Linked DNA regions of Homo sapiens: region 1 is linked to region 2. Evidence: promoter capture Hi-C in human tissues and cell types (Jung and others, 2019). All regions are on one chromosome and are shown on one strand. Each heading gives the region's core, a stretch centred on a gene start or on the middle of the fragment in contact. The rest is flanking DNA. Distances are from core to core; before and after follow the strand shown.

Region 1 (7,000 bases), core at 86-2,585, 800 kb after region 2:
TCCTTGCTTTAGTCTGGGAGCAATGCATTTCTTTTGAGGGGGTGGGAGAGGTAGTTCAGGAGGTCTAATTGCATGTCAGGAAGGGTGAAGCCCCAGAAATTTGCAAACAGAATTTGCTTTAACAGTGGTTAATTGTGCCTCCTAGGATGCTTTCCTCCTTCCATTTAAAAGTGAGTTCGGCCGGGTGCGGTGGCTCATGACTGTAATCACAGCACTTTGGGAAGCTGAGGCGGGCGGACCACCTGAGGTCAGGAGTTTGAGACCAGCCTGACCAACATGGTGAAACCCCATCTCTACTAAAAGTACAAAAATTGGCTGGGCATGGCGGCATGCGCCTGTAATCCCAGCTGCTAGAGAGGCTGAGGGACGAGAATCGCTTGAACTCAGGAGTCAAGGGTTGCAGTGAGCCAAAATTGTACCACTGCACTCCAGCCTAGGTGACAGCAGAACTCTGTCTTAAATAAATAAATAAATAAGTAAATAAATGTAAGTTCATGGCCGGGTGCAGTGGCTCACACCTGTAATCCCGGCACTTTGGGAGGCCGAGGTGGGCGGATCAACTGAGGTCAGGAGTTCGAGACCAGCCTGGCCAACATGGTGAAACCCCGTCTCTACTAAAAATACAAAGAAATTAGCCAGGCGTGGTGGCGGGTGCCTTTAATCCCAGCTACTCGGGAGGCTGAAGCAGGAGAATCGCTTGAACCTGGGAGGCAGAGGTTGCAGTGAGCCAAGATCGCACCATGGCACTCCAGCCTGGGCAACAAGAGTGAAACTCCGTCTCAAAAAAAATAAAATAAAAGTGGGTTCATATTACTGGCTCACAAGTCAGACATTGGGTACCTTTGCAATCATATAATGTGCTGCTTCTGAAAATGTCTGGCTGGTCTCCAACCAGGCCTATAAATGGGCTGGCTGAGCCAGGCCCTATGAGGGCCCACTCTCCTCAGGAATACTGAGACATTATAAATGCACCTGTACTTTCCAGTTGTATGAATAGGTGCTTTCCAGTTTTATTTCTCCCATCCATACATCTGTGGTAACTGAAAAATCATTTTAACCATAGTGATATTTGACAGCAAATTGTCGTCACAGATAAAGATGTAAGTATACTTTCAACCAACACACTGCTAATTAAATTGCTTTATGTGTCTAAACTTGGGCCTCACGCCAGTCATATCCAGTGTTCCTACTCTCTTCTTCGAATGAGTTGCCTTGTGTTTCATGACCTTGTTTTTGTTCATTACAGTGTGAGCCACTGCCCCATGTTGTGTTGATGCCAATCTGCCATGCTAGCCTGTCTACCAGGGCCAGGTGACCTGTCCTTTCAGCTTCTTTCTCACACGCAGATGAACACTGGACTTCAGAAATGTAAGTAATCTGGATCCTATGGAGCATGTGTGATTCTTTGTTTTTGTCTCTACATTTGGGCCGTCCTTGAAGCACATCTGGGGTACACTGACCTTGAATTTTGACACCTTTCTTTTTTTTTTTTTTTTAAGACGAAGTCTTGCTCTTGTCACCCAGGCTGGAGTGCAATGACGCGATCTTGATTGGCTCACTGCAACCTCTCCCTCCCGGGTTAAGCAATTCTCTTGCTTCAGCCTCCCGAGTAGCTGGGATTACAGGTGCCCACCACCATGCCTGGCTAATTTTCTATTTTTAGTAGAGATAGGGTTTCACCATGTTGGCCAGGCTGGTCTCAAACTCCTGATCTCAGGTGATGCCCCTAACTTGGCCTCCCAAAGTGCTGGGATTACAGGTGTGAGCCACTGTGTCCAGCCATTAGGGGTCTGCTTAAATTCTGTAATTCCCCATTGTATCTCAATTTTAATTGTTGCTGATAGCTTTCTGTTGAACAACAAAACTATAAAGAGCTTCAGGGGAAATATATATATATATATCACCCTTAAAAAAGGTGTTTCAGTTTGAACCTTCATAGGGAATTGAATGAAAACTCACAGTCCAGATTACTTACTATATCTCTGAAATAAACTATGCTGTTCTCTTGTTTTGAACTCTCTTAGTAGTCTACCATGGAAACAGACAGTTCCCTTTGGCTTTGCTACCTGCCTTCTGAGTCAGTGTGACTTTAGTTCACAGGAAGTCAGGGAGCTTTTGCCCTCAGAAGAGATGGAGAGCTAGCTTTCTCAGTCTCTCTGGGCATTTTCCTGCTAATACACTTCCCAGAAGATTGAGCCTTTGAAAACTGTTAGATTCTTGTCTTAACTTTCTGGAATTGGGGTTTTATACTTCATATTTTCCCGGACTCCTTCCTACCTTCTCTCCCTGTAATACATGATCTGCAAGGAAAATATTCTATTCTTGGCACATTACCATGTATAGTATCTTCAGGTGTAAAAACAGCCCTAAATTTGGAATAGACCTTCCATTCAGAGCACAAAGGGGAAATCATTGAGGTGGCTAGGCTTCCCTTTGATAGGAAAGGTGCTTCAGCACCTTAACTGAACCCCTTATGACAGGGGTTAACAAACTTTCTGTAAAGCCCAGATAGCCAATAATTTAAGCTTTGTGGGCCATGTGGTCTCTGTTGCATCTACTCAACTCTGGCATTGTAGGGCAACGGCAGCCACAGACAATAAACAAATGAGGGTGTCTGTGTTCCAGTGAAACTTTTTTACAAAAAAACAGCAACTGGACCAGGCACGCAGGCTGTCGTTTGCCAGCCCCTGCCATGTGAGAACATCATCAGAAGTTAAAAATGGTCCAGCCTTTAGACTTCATTTCTTTGAGAGAGCGTAAGACTCAGAGCCTGGCTAGTTCTGGAATTTGGCCAGTGAATCCAGCTCTATGTAATAACAGCTGAAGGTGGTAGTCCTCCTTCTACAGTTGCCTGACACAATAAGGCAAGCTCTGCTATAGCTTTCTCAACCCATCCTTTATCTTAATAAGTGATGATTGGGTGATGAAGGTGTTATGTTATACTCTCTGGTCATCCAAATCAGCATCCTAACTGCATCGTGCCTATTTCTGGGCTTCTGGGGACACAACTGGAGAGGGAACGTACTTAGAGGCATGCAGTAAGATGACAAAGAGAAGCTTCCTTTGTTCTGGGTTCCTTAACACACTCTGACAGCTTTACCCAAAGATGTGATATCAAGGGAAAAGCCATTTGGAGGACGGGCAAATTGGCAGCTTTATCTTGGTGTTCACTTTTATTATTTTTATTTTTTTTTTAATTATTTTTTTTAGATAGAGTTTTGCTCTTGTTGCTAGGCTGGAGTGCAATGGCGTGATCTCGGCTCAACGCAACCTCCGCCTTCTGGGTTCAAGCGATTCTCTACCTCAGCCTCTTGAGTAGCTGAGATTACAGGCATGCACCACCACGCCCAGCTAATTTTGTATTTTCAGTAGAGACAGGGTTTCTTCATGTTGGTCAGGCTGGTCTCGAACTCCCGACTTCAGGTGATCCGCCTGCCTCGGCCTCTCAAAGTGCTGGGATTACAGGTGTGAGCCACCACACCCAGCCCACTTTATTTTATTTTATTATTTTGAGGAGGACTTTTGCTCTTGTCACCCAGGCTGGAGTGCAGTGGCACGATCTCGGCTCACTGCAACCTCCGCCTCCCAAGTTCAAGTGATTCTCCCGCCTCAGTCTCCTGAGTAGTGGGATTACAGGCATGAGCCACCATGCCCGGCCCTTTTTTTTTTTTTTTTTTTTTTTGAGATGGAGTCTCCCTCTGTCACCCAGACTGGAGTGCAGTGGCGCAATCTCGGTTCACTGCAACCTCCATCTCCCGGGTTTAAGCAGTGCTCCTGCCTTAGTCTCTCGAGTAGCTCAGATTACAGGCATGCGCCACTGGAAATTTTTTCTTTCTTAATCCTAAACCTCTGCTCTGTATTTCCCCTTCTCAGGATCACAATATAGTAGTGGCTCTGTAAATATTTACTGTTTGAATAGCTGATAAAAGGTCCTTGGTCCTTAAACCATCTTCAGATAACAACTTTGATTTCCTTCCATGGCAGAACACTGGGGCTCTGGGGACAAATGCCAAAATTACCTTCTTTTACTGCTTCTTTATGTGCATATCTGCCCCCTAGTGGAGGGGTCTGGAAATGGCAGATTGACCCAATGACTGGATAAAGTCATAGAAATAATAGCTAACATTTGTCAAGTTGCTACCATGTGCCAGGCACTATATTGAATATTTTCACATATGTTGTCACCCATTCCTCAAAAATTCCATATGGAAGACTCTCTTGCCTTTGTCAGAAGGATAAGGTATAGAGAGAGGGTTTGTCACTTGCCAGTGCCACATGACAGTCCTGTGACTGGCCCATACTCAGCTCAGACTCTGAAATCTGTGTTTGAACACATTGCCTGTGCCTCTCTGCCTACAGATAGAGGTTCCTGTTGCCTATGCCACCTGTGCCCTCTGACCTTCAAAACAGAAGGATGAACAGAGAGGTCTCCATTGGGAGGACTGAATTTCAGGCAGAAAATTGCCTCCAGTCCATCCTGGAATAGACAGCAGTGCTTTCTGTTACATTTAACTCTCAGGCTGAAGGCCAGGTTGTCCTGCAGTTGGGGCTTCCTTAGTCAGTTTTCTTTGTGTTGTCTGTGGTCAGACTCAGCCACATCTGCTATCCTTGAATGGTAACTATTGACCATCATTGTTTCATTTTCAATGAAAATGCTCATTTAGTGAAAATGTTCATTGACTCTCGATCTTAGTAATTCTGTGAAGTAGGAGAGCAGAATTCATCCCTGTTGATAATTGAGGAATGACAGGCTCTCAGTATGGGCAAATGATGAAGCTAGTACTTGAATACAGGTTTCTCTAACCCTTTACAAACTACAGATTTCCTATTCCCTACATTGTCTATGTCTCTATTAATGACACTATTGGTATAAGCTATTTAAGTAAGTCGCTTACAAAGCTGTGGTATCTGTGTTGGCTGTGTAGTTACAGAAATACATTACAGAAGAAAATAAGTAGTCAGGGTGCCTGTGTGGGGGCTGTGATAAGTGTTGAGAAAACTTTTTTTTTTTTTTTTGAGACGGAGTCTTACTCTGTCACCCAGGTTGGAGTGCAGTGGTGCGATCTTGGCTCACTGCAACCCTGCCTCCCGGGTTTAAGCAATTCTTTGCCTCAGCCTCCCGAGTAGCTGGGATTACAGGCACCTGCCACCATGCCCGGCTAATTTTTTGTATTTTTTTAGTAGAGACGGGGTTTCTCCATCTTGGCCAGGCTGGTCTTGAACTCCTGACCTCGTGATCCACCCACCTCGGCCTCCCAAAGTGCTGGGATTACAGGCGTGAGCCACCATGCCCAGCTGAGAAAACTTTTTTTTTTTTTTTTTTTTTTGAGATGGAGTCTCGCTCTGTCACCCAGGCTGGAGTGCAGTGGTGCAATCTTTGCTCACTGCAACCTCCACCTGCCGGGTTCAAGCAATTCTCCTGCCTCAGCCTCCCAAGTAGCTGGGACTACAAGTGCGCTCCACCATCCCAGGCTAATTTTTTGTATTTTTAGTAGAGACAGGGTTTCACCATGCTGGGCAGGCTGGTCTTGAACTCCTGACCTCATGATCCACCCGCCTCGGCCTCCCAAAGTGCCAGGATTACAGGCATGAGCCACTGCGCCCAGCAGAAAACTTTTTTTAAGAGTTAGGCTTAAGTCTGGTATGTGAGGTAGATGGTGCTGTATTCCCAGAATGATACCCCTTTTTTGTTCAATATACTGTACTCATCTTTGGGGTTCTTCCTTAACAAAGCTACTGTAGCCTTGTGGCCACCCTCCCTACCCTCATTTCACTTTATTTCTGAATCCTTTGACAGCCCTCTTCACCATTTCAGCATCAGTGGAGGCAGGACAAAGAAAACTAATCAATGTGGATAAGTGTCCCCTTCCATACTCCTGAATGAGGTCAAGCTTCCCCCTTGCCTCTGCTAAAAAAAACCTCAGAGTTGGTACTAACTTGGAACAAAGGGACTCTTCTACTCATCAAGGTACTATACGACTTCTACTTGGATTTCAAGGAGAGAAGCCCACCAGCATGGAGGTGGGCTAGGTTTAAAGCACTGTGCTAGGAGTATTATATGAGATTATGACCAATAAGACACATAGGTACAGTGGTTGACCAAGGCAGCTTCTGTTGGAATTCTGATGTCTTGAGTTTAGGGACTTGCTCTCAATCAGTGATCCCAGACTTTTTTGCCAGTATTTGAAAGCACAGACCTGTTTTGGGAGGTGGGGATGCCTGGCTCTTTTTGCCCAGATCTGCTTGTGAGCATGGGCCCAAATCTCTCTGCCCCTCCTGACTTGAGCTTTCTTTTCCTGCTTCCCAGAGCAGGAGTTGCTAACCAGCATTATCACCAAACAAAGAGAGCTGTACCCATTTTCCTTCTAATATGCTCATTAGCCTACCTTTGTTCTAGGTGATGCCCAGTGATGTGACTTTGAATAGAGTCTCCTTTGGGCCAAGGCCACCTGAGGCCACAAGCTGGGCATTCAGTCAGATTAGTCGTTGGCCTATCCTCCTGCCTTTTGCAAGAGGAGGAAGTAAGGAGAGAGTCGGCTAGCTGAGCCTGGGCTTCCTGCCAAGCCACTTCTGCTTTGGGCAGTCTGTGTACTCATTCAGCAAGCATTTATTAGGCACCTTTTGTGTATACTCAGGGGAGACCCTCCCTCAGAGACGAGAGAGTAGAGCAGAGCCCCCTTGCAGGAGGTTGGCATCCTTAAAGAGCCCTTGTTCTCAGAACCTTTTCCTTTTTGACTGGAAGCCGGACATCCGCTGAGCCCCCTGATGGGAGGCAACAGGAGATGGGAACAAAGAGACTGTTAACATTAATGAGGCACACCGAGTGGGCATTTCCGCAGTCTCCAAAGGCAGGCAGGTTTTTCCTCTTTCTTTTTGGAAAATGACAGCTGACATGGACCAAATACAGACTATTTTTGGCTCTCAGGACTGAAAGGACTGAAAGATGCTCTGAATCCTTTCTTCTCAATTCCCTCCCTGCTGCCCTGTCATTATTATCTTC
Region 2 (7,347 bases), core at 4,834-7,333:
AAGGGAGGCAGAAGCGGCTCCTTTTCTCCCCTTGGCCGCCCACTCAGCAACCAACAAGGAGGAAAGCCCCCGCAGTGCTCGGCCAGTGCCGCGCCATCGCCACCAGGGAGCGCCCCGCGCGCGGTCCACGTGGCAGAGGTCGCGGCCTCGCGGCGCGGGGAGGAGCCGCACGCCACAGTGGCAGGTCCCAGGCCGTCACTCCGAGCTCTCGCCTTCCGGGCCGCTGTCCGGCGTGGGCGGGAGGAGGGGTCTCCGGCGCGAGCGCTTGACCCGGCGCGAGGGCTGCAGCAGCCTCCGCTTCAGCACAGCTGTGGGCCGGGCGCCGAGCAGTCAAGGGCGGGAGGGCAGGGAAGCTACGGGGGGCGGCGGGCGACGCGAGGTGGGGCGGGGGCCTCGGGTAGGGTAGGGAGGGAACTCCTCACCAGCCACTGTGTCCTGGCTGTCCGCTGTGGGCCCCCAGTAGATGCTCTCCCCGCGTCGGAAGTTTCTGTGCAGCCGTGTGCAGAGCGTGGCCAGGGTGAGCAGCACCAGCAGGAAGGTCAGGGCCATGGCAGCCCAGGCGGCCTCTTCAGTGCGTGGGGTGGGGCCCCGGGCTGCCCGTGGAGGCGCTGCTGCGCGAGGGGCCGGGGAAGCCTGACTTGAACAGACACAGCCCCCTGGGCTGCCTTGCCCGTTGGGCACCTGAGCCTCTGTCCTGGAGCTGGCATTGCCTCCAGGCGCCCCCGGCAGCAGGGAGACAGTGGGCACAGATGGGGCATTACTCTCCCTACCAGGGATTCCCGCCATGGACTGCTTGGCCTTCAAGCTCCCTGGGGAAGCAGAGGGAAACCTCAGGGCTGAGCGAGTGGGCTGGGGACCAAGGGCAGCCCGCAGCCTCCGCCTCTTGGCACCACTAGAAGAGGGCTGCCTGGGCCCTTGAGATGTCACCTCTGTGCCAGGGGGCCGCCAGCTCCGCAGAGCAAAGGCCAGAGCCAGGGCCTAAGGAGAGGAGAGAGAGCAATCACCCTGCTGCCCCTCTCAGAGAACCCGAGGGCCAACAAGCCTGGGCCCAGCGTCTCTCACCTGCACACACCCTCTTCGGCACAGCCTCCCTCTACCGGGAGTTGGCTCGGAGGGAGCAGGCCCTGAAAGGCTTTCACAGTAGATCCATGCCTTCTTCTTCCTCTGCTTCCTCCTCCGCCTCCTCATCAGCCAGTGGGCAGCCCAGGCTGGCTCTACCCAGGCCATCTCCAGCGCCAGCCCCCATGCAGTCAGCACCAGGGGCTACGAGAGGAGGTAACTGTTAGAGCTACGAGGAAGGTGGGGACAAACAAGAGGAAACCCTTGAATTTTCCATTCCCTGCACACGGGGCCATAGCCTTCTGCCAGGGCCAGGCAAGCGCCTTTCATCAGCTACATACCCGATCCTGCGTGAGGCTGAAGTCAGGGGTGAGGGAAGGGTTAGCCATACAAGCATAGGCCAGGAGGGCAAGCTGGAGCTTCAGCCAGGGATGGGCACAGGGGTGGTAGAGGAAGGTGACATCCTCAGCCTGGAGGAAAGGCACAGAGACATCAAAGCAGGCCCAGAGCCCTCCCAGAGAATCTCAAGTTCTCCCATCCAGGGGACCAGTTTAAAGGTACTCCCAGGATAGCTGGATGGCTCTTCTACCTTCAGGGCCCAGGAAAGGACAAAGGGCCCTGGGTATTGGCATGTACCCACTCTTGCCTCTGAGTGTTCCTTTCACCCTTCCTCTCCATCAAGTGCCACCCTTCAAAGCTCACAGCATGCCTGGATAATCCTGCCAGACTCAGACCACACTCTAGCCATATTTCCCTGCAGGTGTAACGATGGCTCTACAGGTCCACAATCCAAGCCATAAGCAACCCCCAAATGAAGACCATCGATCCAATCTATACAGTCTCCCAAGAGCATCCAAATACAGGGCAGGCAGGCAGCAGGTGCACAATCTCAGGATGGAAATACTCCATCAATCATTCATTATTCTTTGATTGAGTTGACTTGGTGCTCAGTGCTGTGCTAGATGCTGTGGGAGATGCCAAAGAACTCCTGGACTCTGCTTGCAAGGAGTGTGTGAGAAACTCAGGGAAACAACTAATGCAAATAAAACAGCAAACTAATAAAACTTAGTGATTAGTTGTTAAATTATCAGAGATAGATTCAGAGGAGGAGGGGAGGAATAAAGGCTGATGCCATCGGGCAGTGTCTCAGGGGGAGCTGATGCCAGCTGGGACTGGGAAGATGGCTGGGGGAGTATGGCAGGAGGGCAGGGAGCTGCACTCTCCGAGTCAGGATAGGCCAGGTGTGGAGGAGAATAAACAGGAGCAAAGGGGCTGTGGTAAGGGCGAGGCTGGCACTCATTTGTGTGGCAAACAGCCCGACACAACTGGAGAGGAACCAAGGATGTGGAGAGGTCAGACGAAGCTTACTTAAGTAAGGCCTGAAAAGCCAGGCCGGAGAATATGGCCACGATAAGGTGGGAAATAAGGAGCCATTGACAGTTTGTGAACAGAGGAATGACTTCATGAAAGGGCTGTTTGAGGAAAGGAATCTGATAGGTGGCGTGAGGCAACAACTCTTGGCCTGGAGCTATTACAGAGAATTTTTTTTTTTTTTTGAGACAGTCTCGCTCTGTCGCCAGGCTGGAGTGCAGTGGCATGGTCTCGGCTCACTGCAACCTCTGCCTCCTGGGCTCAAGCAATTCTCCTGCCTCAGCCTCCCAAGTAGCTGGGATTACAGGGGTGTGCCACCACGCCCAGCTAATTTTTGTATTTTTAGTAGAGACAGGGTTTCACCATGTTGGCCAAGCTGGTCTTGAACTCCTGACCTCAGGTGTTCCACCCGCCTCAGCCTCCTAAAGTACTGGGATTACAGGTGTGAGCCACCATGCCTGGCCAATTTAAGTTAGGTATTTCAGGCCAGGCATGGTGGCTCACACCTGTAATCCCAGCACTTGGGAGGCTGAGGCAGGCAGATCACTTGAGGTCAGGAGCTCAAGACCAGCGTGGGCAACATGGTGAAACCTCGTCTCTACTAAAAATACAAAATTAGCTAAGCTAGGTGGCACACGCCTGTAATCCCAGCTGCTCGGGAGGCTGTGGCATAAGAATTGCTTGAACCTGGAGGCAGAGGTTGCAGTGAGTGCCACTGCACTCCAGCCTGGGCAACAGAGTGAGATTCCATTTCAAATAATAATAATAATAAGTATTTCAAAGGAAAATTCAGAGGAGCTGGCGATGAAGATGGAGATGCTACCACGCAAGCTGAGCCCGCAGTGTGGAGCCTGGCAACTGGAGGCACACTCCTTGCACGATGCAGCTCTGTACTGTACACGGTGCTGGCACATACCCTCCCTCGCTGCTCACAGGTAGAGACAGAATTAATACCCTCTCCTACAGAAAGCTGGGGCCCACAAAGTCAGGAGACTTCCCGCTGTCTCCTCAGGGAGCTGGAGCCTGGGTTTTTTCCAGCTACTCTCAGAGAGAGTTCCACTCACAGCCACTTGTCCACAGAGCCAGCTACCCAACAGCATCCTGACACAGCATTGCAGATGACAGGCCTATGGCTCACTGTCTTTGAGCCATCTGTCCTGGGGCTGATCTGTCCTGGGCTTGGAGGTGGGGCAGAGAACTAGAACCCTGCCTCTGCCTGAGGGAAGTGGTAAGGAATGGGGCCGATCAGCAGAACAGGCAGCGAAGCCTGCTAGGAGCGCCTGTCTCCAGGCGTGGACACCAAGGGTGGTGGGCCCCTGCTTGTACTCACCTGCCCTGGGCTCACTCGTGTGTAGGTCACTCTTGGTGACACCTATACATGGGGAAAGAACAGAGCTTAGGGCAGTTGGGGGACTCCGTGTGTGTGTGGTGGGGAGGGGACGGCAGGCCCCAAGCGCCAGGCTGGGATGGAGAAGTTGGCTACTGAGGACTGAGGAACCGGCAGAGGTCCTCAGATGGTGACTGTGGAGGGTGCGGCGAGAACAGAGCGGGACTGGGCTAGCCTTTCACATCCCTCTCTCCCTGGGCCCTCCAGGGCTCCTACCTGCGGAGGCAGAGGCCACAGGCTCTCGGGACAATGGGCTCCCGCCTCCTCCGCCGGTCCAGCCATCACCTGTGGGTCCAAAGCGAAGAGTTGGGGCGCTGGACGCGGCGAGGCCCTGCCCTCTCTCTCCCCAGGCCCAGCCCGCCAGCGGAAGAACTCCGCGTCCCCCTCGGCGCGCCACTCCTTCCAGGACGAACTTTTGGCAAAGCGCTTTGAGCTCGCGGGCCGAGGCCTTCCCAGGAGCGGGTCACCTTACCTCGCTGGGACCCAGGAGCCTCGCGAGGGCTGCCAGGAGAAGCAGTTGGGGCGAAGGCGGAGGAGGCGCCATTCCAAGCGGCCCCGGGCCCGGCCCGCCGCCCAGCCGCTCCGCCAGCGAGGGAGCGCGCGCGCCCCGCCCCTCCAGCCCCAGCGCCCCCGCGCCGCCCGCGCCGCCCGCGCGTCCGTTGGCCCTGGGCTCGCGCGCGCCCCTCCCCAGACAGTGGGCCCCCGGTATCGCCCCGCCCCAATGCCCGCCCACAGCAGCGGAGTGTGCGCGCACGCGTCTTAAACCCGAAGCCGGAAAAGTTAAGTGTAGGAACCGGGTCAGCGCGCAAGGCTCAGTAGGGCAGGCGGGGGGCCCCTTTCCTCGTCCGGGGATTCGTCTCAGCAGGTCCCTGCAGTCTGTAGAGCAGCTGCACAGCTGCAGCGCCTGGATGAGATCGTGGAGCGGAGTGTAAGGCCGGAAATGGAATCCCTGTGGACCGGGTGGCCCAGGCTGGGGAGACGGGTACACTCCCCTGGCAAACCCGCTTCAGATTTGTCGGTGTGACCTGCAATGAGAAGAGGGGCAGAATCATGAAGTCAGGAAGAGCTGCTGAAGGGAGAGGGTCCCACCTCTGGAGCTTCGCCGTCGGCCCACCCCGCTCCCGCCCTCGCAAATAGGGTCCAACGCGGAGGAGCCTCGGGAGGTGTCTCCGCTCCCCAAACTCTCCAAACCCAGAAGCCCCGGGAGGCCGGAGCTAGCCGAGAGGCTGCTGTCTTCCCCACCTCCGCCGTCGCCCAGCGGTGGCAGGCGCGCGTCTAGAAAGAGATTGGTCGCCGCGAGATGGGGACGCCACAGGCCTCACCCCCAGGAGGTGCGCTGGCCGGCCCGCCCCGCAGCGGGGCGCTGGTTCTGGTTCCCTCTCCAGGATTTGGGGGGGAAACGTGGGTAGAGAGCGAGGGTCGAGATGCCTATCCCAAAGCTTGGAAACAGCGAGAACGTGTTATTTCCGTGGTCTCCCATGCACCCCGGTTTACGAGGCGTTCCTTGTAGGTCGGACGGGCATCCCTGTCGCAGGGCGCCTGAGTGTGTCCTTTTCTCCGACTGACTCTCGGAGGCTTGGGGCTGCTGTTTCTGGGGAAGCCACTCCCGGGCTGAGGATTTCCTTGATGTGGAGCCCCGAGCTCGCGGGGACGGGGGCGAGGAGTCCACGGGACCCGCACTGATGCAGGCGGGGAAGCAGCAGCCTCCCGCCAGCGGCTCAAGACGCCGCGCTCGACCTCTCTAGCCCAGTGCCGGACCCCGCCCAGCCAAGTTATTGCGGGGTTGCGGGGCCGGGCGGGGGAGAGCAGGGCCGCCCGAGGGCAGAGCGCGCGCGCGGCCGCCGCCCCACGGGGTCCCGGGAGCCGGCGCCCGGAGCTGCGACTTACTCACCTCTCCCTTCTGCTTCTTTTCATCGGCCTCTGAGGGCGCAGCGCCCAGGGTCTGGCGGAAGACCCTGATGACAGTCGGGTCCCCAAGCCTCGGCCTCCAGTCTCCCCACGTCTCCATGGCCAACACCGCTCTCCCCGGCTCGTGCCCTCCCCACTCCCTTCCGGCTGCCGGCGCGCCCTCCCTCCCTGGTGGCCCCGGCTCCTCTCACCCTCTGCTCCCACTTGTTGCAATTGCTGTACAAAGGGCCGGGGCGGGGGTGGGGGGCGGGCGAGGGCAGCCGGGCCCGAACTGGCTGCCTCTGCCCGGCCACGGCCAATCCAGAGCGCGCCCGCGCGGGAGGGCCCTGGGCAGCCGCCGCCGGCGGGCGGAGCCGCGGGCAAAGCGCGGAGCTCGCCGAGTAGACGGCCCCGCCGCCCGCTGCCCGCCGGGGCTCTCCAGCTTCGCCATGCCGCCGTGGGGCGCCGCCCTCGCGCTCATCTTGGCCGTGCTCGCCCTTCTCGGCCTGCTCGGCCCGCGGCTCCGGGGACCCTGGGGGCGCGCCGTCGGAGAGAGGACCCTGCCGGGGGCCCAAGACCGAGACGACGGGGAGGAGGCGGACGGCGGAGGCCCGGCGGACCAGTTCAGCGACGGGCGCGAGCCACTGCCGGGAGGGTGCAGCCTTGTTTGCAAGCCGTCGGCCCTGGCCCAGTGCCTGCTGCGCGCCCTGCGGCGCTCAGAGGCGCTGGAGGCCGGCCCGCGCTCCTGGTTCTCCGGGCCCCACCTGCAGACCCTCTGCCACTTCGTCCTGCCCGTAGCGCCTGGGCCTGAGCTGGCCCGGGAGTACCTGCAGTTGGCGGACGATGGGCTAGTGGCCCTGGACTGGGTGGTAGGACCTTGTGTTCGGGGCCGCCGGATCACCAGCGCCGGGGGCCTTCCTGCGGTGCTTCTGGTGATCCCCAATGCGTGGGGTCGCCTCACCCGCAACGTGCTCGGCCTTTGCTTGCTCGCCCTGGAGCGCGGCTACTACCCGGTCATCTTCCATCGCCGCGGCCACCACGGTTGCCCACTGGTCAGCCCCCGGCTGCAGCCTTTCGGGGACCCGTCCGACCTCAAGGAGGCGGTCACATACATCCGCTTCCGACACCCGGCGGCGCCGCTGTTCGCGGTGAGCGAAGGCTCGGGCTCGGCGCTGCTCCTGTCCTACCTGGGCGAGTGCGGCTCCTCCAGCTACGTGACAGGCGCCGCCTGCATCTCGCCCGTGCTGCGCTGCCGAGAGTGGTTCGAGGCCGGCCTGCCCTGGCCCTACGAGCGGGGCTTTCTGCTCCACCAGAAGATCGCCCTCAGCAGGTGGGTAACGGAGGCCGCAGACCAGCATGGAAAGAATAGAGGGCCTGAGCTGGCTAAGAATCAGAAACAGCTATGCATAGCATTGGAACAGGCGTGGGCCAGTTTGGGCAAAGTTCTCTGAACACATCTTCCAAAGCCTTCCAAACCCTGTAATCTAGACAGAACCGGGGAAGCGGGTTTAAAGGTCATCGATGGACTCAGCTAGTATCGCTGTGCTAGAGCAGGGACTCCTAACCCGGCCCCTTGCCTCATCTCGGCACCCCCTGCTGTATCCTAGCAATCTGAGCACCTGGCCCACGACAGCAGAGATACC

Evidence for each region. The method cuts DNA at HindIII sites, captures the fragments that hold promoters and counts their contacts. A contact is called where the count stands out against the background at its distance.
Region 1: a fragment that was not itself captured here is called in contact with the fragment with the promoter of ABHD15 in region 2 in 1 of the 25 tissues and cell types used here (dorsolateral prefrontal cortex).

Annotation. Positions count from the first base shown.
Region 1 is chr17:28,760,954-28,767,953 of GRCh38, reverse strand. It overlaps FAM222B (family with sequence similarity 222 member B), which reads left to right. Exons shown (of 3, transcript NM_001077498.3): 2 at 1,247-1,368. The coding sequence starts at 1,287. Among named protein-coding and RNA genes, the nearest start is that of TRAF4, 20 kb to the right of the region's middle. RefSeq lists enhancers at 6,078-6,674, 6,675-7,000. The HindIII fragment of the contact is 6,278 bases long and covers 1-4,474 here.
Region 2 is chr17:29,565,773-29,573,119 of GRCh38, reverse strand. ABHD15 (abhydrolase domain containing 15) reads left to right here and starts at 6,083. Exons shown (of 2, transcript NM_198147.3): 1 at 6,083-7,034. The coding sequence starts at 6,154. It overlaps TP53I13 (tumor protein p53 inducible protein 13), which reads right to left and starts at 4,419. Exons shown (of 7, transcript NM_138349.4): 1 at 4,290-4,419; 2 at 4,034-4,102; 3 at 3,761-3,802; 4 at 1,401-1,529; 5 at 1,063-1,263; 6 at 423-978; 7 at 1-308. The coding sequence starts at 4,361. The coding sequence ends at 196. RefSeq lists silencers at 160-229, 4,183-4,542, 5,543-5,802, 5,893-6,512 and enhancers at 3,379-3,879, 4,963-5,012, 7,033-7,142. The HindIII fragment of the contact is 7,059 bases long and covers 3,840-7,347 here.